Linked DNA regions of Homo sapiens: region 2 is linked to region 1. Evidence: promoter capture Hi-C in human tissues and cell types (Jung and others, 2019). All regions are on one chromosome and are shown on one strand. The core of a region is centred on a gene start or on the middle of the fragment in contact, and the rest is flanking DNA. Distances in the headings are between cores, read along the strand shown. Region 1 holds the start of KCNK13 (potassium two pore domain channel subfamily K member 13). Region 2 has its middle 34 kb from the start of TRA-AGC15-1.

What was found. The method cuts DNA at HindIII sites, captures the fragments that hold promoters and counts their contacts. A contact is called where the count stands out against the background at its distance.
Region 2: a contact is called between a fragment that was not itself captured here and the fragment with the promoter of KCNK13 in region 1, in 1 of the 25 tissues and cell types used here (lymphoblastoid cells).

Annotation. Positions count from the first base shown.
Region 1 is chr14:90,058,549-90,064,368 of GRCh38, reverse strand. It overlaps KCNK13 (potassium two pore domain channel subfamily K member 13), which reads right to left and starts at 2,375. Exons shown (of 2, transcript NM_022054.4): 1 at 1,830-2,375. The coding sequence starts at 2,163. LOC124903406 reads right to left here. Exons shown (of 3, transcript XM_047432048.1): 2 at 3,458-3,967; 3 at 2,636-3,007. The coding sequence ends at 2,743. RefSeq lists enhancers at 2,433-2,932, 2,933-3,434 and a silencer at 3,683-4,072. The HindIII fragment of the contact is 23,188 bases long and covers 1-5,820 here.
Region 2 is chr14:88,942,634-88,948,453 of GRCh38, reverse strand. No RefSeq gene overlaps it. Among named protein-coding and RNA genes, the nearest start is that of TRA-AGC15-1, 34 kb to the left of the region's middle. The HindIII fragment of the contact is 4,880 bases long and covers 1-4,791 here.

The sequences.
Region 1 (5,820 bases), core at 1,126-3,625:
TCTGCTCCTTCCTGCCTCTGTGCCCACTGGGAGCACCAAGAGATGGTTTTTCATGGTGGTGGGAAAGATTCAGCCATCAAATCTCCCATCAAAACCACCCTAAGTTACCATTCAATCTAAAAAAATCCTGTACTTGCTATGCAAACACAGTAGAGTCAAGGTCACTTCCAAAGTGACACCTCCTAATCAGTTTGTTCATCCCAAGTCTTGCCTATGTGGAGATTCTGGAACTGTCTTCTGGGACGTGGGAGGTGATGTGAGGAGGGGCTTGTGGAACACGGCTAAGAGTCCAGCAGATAGTGTGGGCTCAGGGGGAGAACCATGGGGGTGTTATTCCTCCTTCACCAATCTTGGGCCCATTCTGGTCTGCTGCAAGGTTTCCTGCCTGATACCCAGTTATGGTGGTGCCATCATGGCCTGCTGATGGGCCGCACCATCTGGGATGGGATGGGGGCTGGGAGCCAGGCACTTCAGATACAGCCGGTGTGTCCCTAATCATACTGGTCCTCTGCCTCGCCTCCTGTGCATCAGCTGAAGCCCTGGATTCCTGGACTAGCCCTGGGAAGTCTTTCATGATGAATCTGACCTGAAGCCAATCTCTTTTGTCTTTTGTGCTGCTTCTCCTGGCAGAATGTCTATGTAGCACAGCCATGTGTGGGAGCCTCAAGGAGGCTCAACTTGTCGCCCCACCTCACCAGCGAGCTCTTCTAGAGTGCACAGGGGCAGTAGCTACAGAGCGCTCAGCACATGCACCCTGGGCTGTTTGCAACTGCCAGCCTTTTTTGCAGCTTGGAGGCCACTTCCTCTCCGTCTAACTCTTCCAACCTCCCTCCCCTGCTCCAGGTCTCTTTTTGCCCCCCTCAGAATTTATTTCTACAGCATCTTCCCTAACCCCCATTAATCACTTGATTATTCTTCAAGGATGAACAATCTTTAGGGGTGTGGCGCAGACTCCCCCAAATCATTTTCCTTCTGCTGGGAAATAAACACAGCTGATTGTAGCTGTGCTACATCTTTGCTAAAAAATTCTCAATGGCTCCCAGGTGCCTCTAGGTAAATTCCAGCTCCTCAGTCTGTCAGTGAAGGTCCTACCCCCGCCTCCATCCCATTAGCCAGCAGACCTTCCTAGTCTTCCTTCCACCACTCCAACCAGCTCATGGGGCCCCTGAGTGCGATTCTCTCCTACTCTAGAGTGCAACCGCGCTTTCAGTTCCCAAACCCAAGTTATGCCTAACACGAATTGATTCAGCCCAAAGGTCACTTCCCTGGTTCTTCCTGGTGGAAAATTTTCCATCTTTTGAACCGTCATTGGCACTTTTGCTTCCTCACTTTCAGTCTGCTGTTCTGATTTTTTCTCGGTAAGTGTGAAGTCGAGGGCAGAATCTTTTAAAATCTGCACTTCCCCTCTGACTGACTCAGTAAATGTTTAGTTTCCTGTCCCTATCTGTAAAAGCCTTCTTCCCCATGAACTCAAGCCGTGTCTCCTTCATTAGACTGAAAATCTCCCAGAGCAGAGCGTCTCCAATTTAAGGATCATTCCAATCCTTTGGGGACTTTGTTAACATGCAGATTCTGACTCGGCAGGTCTGCAGAGGGGACTGAGACTGCATTTCTAACAAGCTGCCAGGTGACGCTGAAGCTGCCGGTGCCTGGACCACATTAGAGCAGCGGGGAGGCAATACCACCTGTTGATCAGGCGACAGCTCATGTCAGTGGAGTCTGGCTGGGCGCCCAGATGGATGAATGAAAGGATGAGAGGGTCGGTCCTGCCCCCCGGAGGAAGTGGAGGCCGCCCGGAGGTTGTCAGCGAGTCCGGCCAGCACACTTACCTATGGTGGAAACGACGGTGCCCACGAAGTAGAAGGCGCCGGTGAAGTCCCAGCGCGGGCGGACGTTGTCCACGCGGATGCCGGCCCGAGTGGCCTCCTCGTAGTGGCGGAGGAAGCCGCGCAGCTCGTCGCGGCTCAGGTTGTGGCCGCGGCTGAAGTTGGCCAGGCGCTCCTCCCAGCGCTGCTTGGCCTGGCGCTCGTGCGCCAGCTCCAGCGCGGAGAAGACGGCGGCGCCGCCCAGCAGGTAGAGCACGATGAGCGCGGCCAGCAGCAGAAAGCGCGCGTTGTCCTCGTTCAGGTGGCCCGGGCCCCAGCTGAAACCCCGGCCAGCCATGGCCGGGCCCCCGGGGGCAGCCCCCAGGCCCACGGCACCGGGCGTCGGCGGAGTCTCGCCCACACCCCCGGGAAATAAGGGCCCCGGCGCTCAGCCAGCTCCCGGGCGCCCCACCGCCGGCTCGCCCATGACCGCCGGGCTCTCCCGCAGGCCGCGAGGCTCCCCCGGCCGCCGCCTCGGTAGCTCCTGTGGCGCCAGCTCCCCACGTCCTCCTTGACTCCTAGTTTCAAATCCGCTTTGTCGCCGCCGTTCCCCTCCACTCCCCCTGCTCTCCTCGGAGTTCTCCTTAACGCTGAAGGTCCCGGGGAACGGGCGCAGAGTTCACGTCTGCTTGGCGCTGGGATGCGGGCGCAGTTTCCACCCCGGCTCCCTGTCCGGCTCAGATAGGGGAGGGGGCGTGGCGCGTCTTCAGGGCAAGCTCGAGCCAACTCGAGTTTCCCGCAAAGAGACGGTCGCGGGGCGGGGCGGGGCGGGGCGGGGCGGCGGGGGGGGGGCGCGGTCCGGAGGTCTGCGGGTAAGCAGAGCGCCGGGGTCCTGGGTCCTGGTTCCTTTGACTATCGCTTCGCAGGCCGCCGACGGCTAGGACACGGGTGTCAGTCTGCTGGCTTTGTAGGTGCCTCCCCAGGTAGATCGACGATGGTGCCTCCTAGTTGTGGTCGTGGTGTCGCGCTGAGCCTGTGGCCTCCCGAGTCTCCGAATCGGCTGCCGGGGCTTAGGGATGGAGGGGGTCCAGGGCGGGCGCACGGAGAGAGGGGCTGTGCTGAGCGGCGTCCGAGGGCTGCGGCGTCCGAGGGCTCCGACCTCCGGCCGGGCCCCAACGCTGCGCATCCGTTGGGCGGACGGGCTGGAGAGAGGAGACCAGAAAGGGAGGTTGGAACAGGGAGCAAAGGAAGTTAGGGGCTTCTCCCCCGGGCAGCCTCCCTCGCCTTGACCATGCCAGAGCGCCCTTGGTCTCTGGATCCTGCGCGGGGGCGTCCTCTGCGCCTACTAGTAGGCTCCGCCCGGACCAAGCGCGCACCGCGAGCCAGCCCCGCTTCCGGAGAGGAGGCCAAACACTGGGGGCTGGAAGGGCTCCGCGGCCAGGAGACCTTGACCTTGGAGCGTTCCATCTCTTCCCCCCGGGCTTGGCTGCCTAGTGCGTTCCAGAGTTTTGCCTGGACGCGGGGTCCGCGCAGAAGGCATCCCCCACCTCATGCAGAACAGTAGCAAGGCTCTCCAGCAAACCGCCGGGGCCCCCTCCCCGAGACCCCGCCTTGTAGCGGGCGCTGGCGCCGCTGCCGCGCTCAGATCTCACCTTCCGGGGAGCGCCCTCTCCGCGCCGCTCCGTCGGGACTGTTCCCGGGCCTCCTGGCAGCCGCGGCCCTGCCCTGCCAGCCGGCGCGCGGAGCACAGGTCCGCACCGCGCTCTGCCTTCTCAGGCGGGCGCGCTCCGACGCTGCAACAGGTAGAGCCGTGCGGCTGCCAGCTGCGGCGACTCCACCCTGTCGCCCGCCTCCTTGCGCGCGGGCCCGCCTCCTGCGCTGGTCTCCGCGGGTAGACGCTCGGCGTTCGAAGGGCCGACCCGGGGCTGCGGTGCTCCCACCAGGGCGCGCAGATCTGGGTAGTGGATGCAGAACCGGCTGGTGGGACGCTCAGCCGGTCCGCGTGGGCCCTCCGGGGCCGGGAGAGGGCGCTCTGCCCCCTCCAGACACATCCCGCCCCCGCCCGCGCACACAGCCCCGCGCGGCCCTCCGGAATCACCCGCCCGGGCGTGTGGGAGCGAATCTGTACGCGGAGAGGAATGGATACGTGGGCATCTTCCCACCTTCCGAGAGAGCGGTTTCAGGCGCAGAGCCCCACACACCGCCCTTACGCACCAGGAGCAGAGACAGAAGGGCTAGGAGCCCTGTTGAGTAAAACCGTGTGATTTCGAATAAAGAAACACAGCTCTGGCGAGTGCATTTTCATCAGAAACCCTGGTGCTGTTAGCAGTCCTCTCGGCTCTGTTACTCACTCCCCAATGCCCCTCTTTCATCTAGCCTTCTGAGGGGCAAGAGCTTTAGGGGCATCGCGAGAATGGGTGCATGTGTATACACCCAGGGTGAGTACTGCAATTACCTTTTAAATCCATTTTATTATGAAAAATTTCAAACATTCTAAAAAGTTGAATTTTACAGTGAACACCCGTATACCCACCACCTAGATTCTACAATTAACATGTTACTATACTTGATTTATTAGATATCTACCCGTCCCTCTGTCCATCCATCAACCCATCTTGTTTGGATGCATTTCAGAGTAAGTTGCAGAGCTTGGTACACTTCCGCCCTCATCCCCAGTACTTCTGCCTGCATATCACTACGTAGGGTTCAATATTTACTTGCAGAATTTTTTTCCTTTTCGGATAAAATTTACATACAATGAAATGCACAAATCTTAAGTGTATCATTAGGTGAGTTCTGACAAATGGGTACACCTCTGCAAATCACCTATCCAACCTACCAGCCAAACATCACCAACAGGGTCCCCCTAAGTCCCTTCCCTGTAACTCCCTACCCACATTCCTCCAGAGAAAACCACTGTTCAGAATTTTTCTACCATCGATTACTTTCGCTTTTATAGAACTGTTTTTTTGTTCTAAATCTCCATATAAATGGAATCATGCCGGTATGTACTCTTTGGTGGAAAACATTATGTTTTTGAGATTTACCCATGTTATATGTCTTAGTAATTCCTTCCTCTTTATTGCTAGTTTTTCATTGTTTGGGTATACCATAGTTTGTTTATTCATTCTCCTCCTATTGATAGAAAGGAGAACTGTTAGAAAATTTTGGTCATCATAAATAAAACTGTTAGGAACATTCTTGTACAACTATGTAGACATATGTTTTCATATCTCTTACGTAAAGACCTAGGAGCGGAATTGCTGGGTCATAGGGTAGGTATGTATTTTGCTTTATGAGAAACTGCCCGACATTTTCCCAAAGCAGCTGTACTGACAGTGTACACTAGTTCTGGATGCTCCGTATCTTTGTCAACATTTGGCAGTATCAGTCATTTTAATTTTAAAACTACTGGTGGATGTAGCAATATCTCACTGTGGTTTTAATTTGCATTTCCCTGATGTCTAAAAATACTGGTGGATGTAGCGATATCTCACTGTGGTTTTAATTTGCATTTCCCTGATGTCTAATGCGCTTGCTGGCCACTTGTGTACCTTCTCTTGTGAATTTTCTGTTGAAATATTTTGCCCACTTAAAAAATTAGTTTCTCTGTTACTGAATTATAGAGATCCTTTATATATGCAGGATACGAGTACTTTCTCAGATACATATCTTGCAAATATTTTCTAACTCTGATTTGCCTATTTATTTTCTTAAATATGTTTTCTGTATGTTTGGTGCCCTTTGAGAAATCATTACCTCCTTCAAGGTTGCATAGGTTTTCTGTCTCCCCACACTTTTATATTTGGGTCTACGATCCATTTAAGTTTGTTTCCTTATGGTATGAGGTAAGAGTCAAAGGTCATTTTGTCCAGGTGGATTTCCAGTTATTCCAATGCTATTTGTTGAAAAGATAAATATGCCTGAGTTTCAGGAATTTAATTTGTTCATTATTTGCCCACCCTTATGCTAATACCACAGGATTTACATACTTATAGCTCTATAGTAGGTCTTT
Region 2 (5,820 bases), core at 1,102-3,601, 1.1 Mb after region 1:
CTGAAGTTATGTATGATGCAACTCTTCCTTTCTATCCAGAGTTGAGAAGGGGATGGGAAAACACTCATGCCTAGTGCTGATAGGTGCTGTGTGCAGGACCATTTGACAAATCTTATCACAACCTTTAAAAGCATGCAGACCACTGGTCTCTGTATCTCGACCGCTACACATTTATTCATTCCAAGAAATACTCAATTTTGTTCCAAATATTACAACATCAAGAAGTTAGTAACAAGAACATTCGGCGGAGCATTGTTCACAACAGAAAAATATAATAGGAAACTACCAAACTCTCCATCACAGGGCTGAATGAATCCTGGGAAGGTGAAAGCTCTCTCAACCTACCTAACTGAACCAGACTCCTCTTCCTCTGTAAAACCTGGTGACTGAGGCCATGGCCCTGCCGGTGTGCCTGTGCATATAAGGGTACTCAATACTCCAGCTCCCGACTGCTGAGGTGTGAGTTTAGTGAGTCTGTTGGCTTTGCCTCCAAAGTAGTTTATGGCAGCTGTATGCATTAATTTTATCTCATAATATAACTAAATATTATGCAAACTGATGAAGTGTGCATGCAGAGAGAATATGTGTTTCTATGAAAACTGTGTTAAATGCCTAGGAAAGACTTCATAAATGGAAAGTTGCCAAAGAATTGCTGCAGAATGAGATGTGGGTGAAACAGCTATAAATGAGTGGGGAAAATTATGAGGATTTTACACCAGAATTGCTTGGCTGTATCTTTAAGTACTCACTCCACATTAAAGACACAGAAACTGGAGATGTAGATGGTGCCATCATGGGTGTGGTTTAGGTGAGACAAAGAGCTAGCACTCCAGCTAGCAAGTCCTGTGCTCTGTGCAAAAGACTGGTGAGTGAATATGCATTTTTTTATGCTTTCATTGGAACTAAAATGCCTAAGGTACATATGTGAAATTGTCCAGGATTCCAAAATCTTATCAGCTTTTTCTATTAATTAAGCAGCTGCTGAGACATTGGACAAAAGGAAGACTACTGCATATTCATAGAAAGAAATGTTCTTCATTCAAAACAAAAAGCTAGAAGAGTATATTTTGACAGACCTTCACAATATATTGTCAAATGAAAAAAATCGGGTTAAAAATAGGCACAGTGGAATCTCATTCATGTAAAAACTGTGTGTGTTAAAAATAAATACTTTTTTTTTTGAGACAGAGTCTCATTCTGTTGCCCAGGCTGGAGTGCAGTGGCAGGATCTCCCCTCACTCTAACCCCCGCCTCCCCGGTTCAAGCGATTCTCCTGCCTCAGCCTCCCAAGTAGCTGGGATTACAGGTGCCCCCCACCATGGCTGGCTAATTTTTGTGTTTTTAGTACAGACAAGGTCTCTCCATGTTGACCAGGCTGGTCTGGAACTCCTGACCTCAAATGATCCACCTGCCTCAGCCTTCCAAAGTGCTGGGATTACAGGCATGAGCCACCGCACCTGGCCAAAAATAAATACACTTTTTAAAATGTCTGAGTGGTGAGAATATGAGTGACTTTTGTTTCCTTTTTCATGCTTTTGATATCTTCTTATATGTCTACAATAAATACTTTGTAGAAAAAATAAAATTACAAGAAAGTAGATTTTTGGATAGAAAATATATATACATTTGTACCTAGGGAGCCCAGAGAGGAGGACAGAATGCTTCTGGTTGGGGCTAGGATTTCCCAAGAGAAGCCTGGGAAGACTGAGCCCTGGCCCAGTGGCATGCTCCCCACCCTCTGGGCACCTGCAAGGTGTTCAGTAAGGGGGTGCCGATAGGCCTGTTTTCCATCACCTTGGGCTCGCAGATCTAGGGCTGACTGGGCCGAACTGGAAGTGATCACTCATGGTGTCTCATGCAGTGACAGTCAGGTGGTGATGGGGCTGAGGTCATTCAAGGGCTTCTTCACTGGCTCTCTGGCACCTGGGCTGGAACCTGGAACTGCTGGGGCTCCGTTGGGCATCTCCTCCTCCTCCTCCTTTCCCTCTCTCTCTTTCCTCCTCTCCCTCTCTCTCTTTCCTCCTCCTCTTCTTCTCCTTCTTTTTCTCTTCCTCCTCCCTATCCTCCTTCTTACCTCCTCCTTGTTCTTCTCTCTTTCTCTTTCCTCCTTTTCCCCTTTCTCTTCCTCCTCTTCCTCCTTCTCCTCTTCATCCTCTCTTTCCTTCTTCTCTCTCTTCCCTCTCCAACATCTTCTCTTTCTTCTTCTTCCCTCCCTTCCTCCTTCTATATAGGGCAGCTAGACTTGTGTGTGTGTGTGTGTGTATACATATATATATATGTATATACACACATACAATATATATATATATTTTAATATATATATAGTGTGTGTGTGTATATATATGTATATATATATATGTATTTAAAACCCTGCATTTTTATTTAAGCCTAGACCGCTCCAGCTTCTGTCTGAGGTGCCTTCTCCAAATGCACAGTTCCACTGGGGAAGTAAGTACCACTGACTGACTGGGTGGTGTAAACAATAGGAATTTATTGTCTTACAGTTCTGGAAGCTAGATCAAAGTGTCAACAGGATTGGTTCGTCCTGGAGGCTCTGAGGGAGACTCTGTTCCAGGCCTCTCCTCCACCCTCTGATCATTCGCTGGAAATCTCTGTTGTTCCTGGGCTTGTGGCAGCAGAATTCCAATCTTCACACCGTGTCCTCCCTGTGTCTGGGTGTCTGTGTCCACATTTCCTCTTTTTTCTCAGGACGCCTGTCATACTGGATTAAGGGCCCACCCTACCCCAGTCTGGCCTCATCTTAACTAATTATGTGTATAACAACCCTATTTCCAAATGAGCTCACATTCTGAGGCGCTGGGGGTTAGGATTTCAACATATGAACTTTTGAGGGACATGGTGGAATCCATAACAGCCAGAGACTCCTCTCCTGCCAAGCACATCATAAGGACCTACTGCATTCAACCCACTCTGCCTGTGGCACTGTGCCTCTGTGCCTGTCTAGAGGGCCAGTCTGCCCATTTGATTTTATTCAGAAAGGTTTCCTCAATGCCTCCCACACATGTGGAGAACATGGAACAGAACAGAGCAGGAGGCTTCCCTGAAGCCATTCTCGTGAGTGCCATGTTCCTTTTCATCACAAGACTTGGTTCTAGCAGACACCCAAGGGAGGTGAGCTTTTTCCAAAGCTCAGAGAGTTTTCAGGCTGAAACTTCCCACCCTGCAGGGCAAGCTTACTTTCAAACCCCCATTCAGGGAGGCCATTTGTGGGGTCTGTCTGGCTCTGCTGGTTTGAGTTCTGTCTGCCTCTGAGAAGCCCTCCCCAGCATCCTCCAATCTCCCAGGGCCCCTCCAAGGGTGGTTCTGCCTGTGTCTCCTCTCACACCTTCTCATCCCTTGGACTGGTCATGGCTTGTTTGCTTGTCTGCTCCCCACTGGACTGTAGGCTAATGGCGACAGGGACCTGGTCTCAGTCATTGCTGCATCCCCTGTGCCCAGCCCAGAGCTTCACCCCCAACTGGGACAGAAGGCCACAAACTACAGCCCCTGGGCCATATTTCATCCCCCAACCACCTGTTTTTGTCTAGCCTGTGAACTAAGAATGGTTTTTACATTTTTTAATGGTTGGGAGGGAAATCCCCCAAAAGAATGATATTTTGTGACATGTGAAAGTGATATGAAATTCAAAGGTCAGTGTCCACAAATAAAGTTTTACTGGAAAATAGCAATGCTCATTCATTTATATATTGTCTATGGCTTCTTTAGCCCTACAATAGCAGAACTGAGTAGATGCAACAGAGGCCATCTGTCTCCTAAAACAGAAAATATTTATAATCTGTTTCCTTACAGAAAAAGCATGTGCCAACCCCTCTACTAGACACTGGGGAGATGGATGTTGACTGATGATGAAACAATTGGATAAATGGTCCCCAGATCCCAGGCAGCTCAAGCTGCCTTTTGCTATTAGTTATTTTTATATGTGAGATCCTGAAGGCAGGGATTGAGTCTTCTTTTCCTTTTTTGGCTCCACCAAAGGGTCAGAAGGTCTTGGAAAATGTTGATGCTGATTTGCTGCCTTGGACACCAGGAAGCGGTGGTGCACGGAAGGGCTTGAAGACGCGGGTGCTCCTTCATCGCTGGTCGGTAGAGTCCTTCACCCTTGGTCTGGAGGTCAGGCTGTGGTTGCTGCGGTGCATTCTCTCAGCTGGGAGACCATCCCTGCATGCGCTGTGAGAGGAGACATGAGGCCTGCAGACCTGCTAGAAGCTGGGGGGAACACCGCCGGGTCCACTGTCGGACAAAGTATTTGACTTTCAAGTGAAAACCAAACCTAGGGCACAAAGGAGAAAGTATAGATGTCAGGTACTGACAGGGCTGTATTTAAACCTCATCTTTGGTTCTTTCTAATTCTGTGACTTTAACACAAGCTGCTGCGCCTTTGTTTTCTCATCTGCAAACTGGGGACAGTAATGGTTGTCGTAGGATCTCAGAAAGACGATGGATGTATAAAAAGATGTTGAGAGACATCTTTCCGTATCTCAGGAATTGGAATCAATACTCAGCCACTCAGTAAATACTGAATACCTGCTATGCACCAGGCACTGGTTCAGGCTTGTGGGATATACCAGTGCTATAGATGGAATGTTTGTGCCCAAGATTCATATGTTGAAACCTAATCCCCAACATGATAGTATTTGGAGATGAGGCTTTTGGGAGGTGATAAGTCATGAGGGTGGAGCCCTCGAATGGGATTATTGCCCTTATAAAAGAATCTCCCGAGAGACCCTCACTCTTTCTACCATGTGAAGACACGAAAAGATGGTTATCTATGGACCAGGAGACAGACCCTCACTAGACACTGAACCTTGCCAGTGCCTTCATCTTGGACTTCCCAGCCTCCAGAACCATGAGCAATAAATGTCTGCTGCTTAAGCAACCCAGCCTATGGTATTCTGTTATAGCAGCCTGCATAGACTAAGACAATCAGTGAACAAAACAAAGAAAGCACCTCCTCTCAAGGGGCTTCTATTTTGGCAGTGGAGACAAAAAATAAACAACAAACATAATGATGTAAATTATATAGTGTGTTAGCAGGTGATAAATGTTATGAAAAAAAGATAAAAGAGTAGGGCAGGGCATAGGCACTTGGGAGTGCCACAGTCAGAGAGCAGTTTGCAATATTAAATAGAGTGATCAGGGCAGACTCATGGAGAAGGGGAGCTCTGAGCAAATGCTTCGGAAATCAAGAATATGTCTGTTGAATAAAGAGTTGTTTGACCCTGGGCAAGTCACATACAGCCACTGAGCCTCAGTTTCCTCAACTGTAGTTAACAAAAGCTGCTTCTCGGGATTGTTGTGAGTTTTACAGGAAATCAGATTTGTAATAGCGTAGAGCTTTGCATCTAGTGGATGCTCAGTACATGCGTATTATGAGGGGAACAATAGTGGTTTTTCTTTTTGGTAAAGAATTGCTCATTAAATTAATTTACATGGTAAATTAGGGGACCCACCCCTGATACCTCGTGGGTTAGCCTCTGAAGCTCAGTCAATGTGTACCACAGAAATCACCCCAGTAGCACCAAGAACCTCCATGAAATGTCAGATACTGGGGACCCCAGAGACTTTTCCAGACATTACCCCCAAATCAGAAGACTACTTTGATTCCAGGTGTGTGTGTGTTGCTATTGTTGTTGGGCTGAGAAAGTGGATTGGGAGTGTTGCTAGCTCAAATAAATGTGCTTCTTATAAGAGCTTTTGGCGCGATCTCGACTCACTGCAAGCTCCGCCTCCCGGGCTCACGCCATTCTCCTGCCTCAGCCTCCCGTGTAGCTGGGACTATAGGCACGCGCCACCATGCCC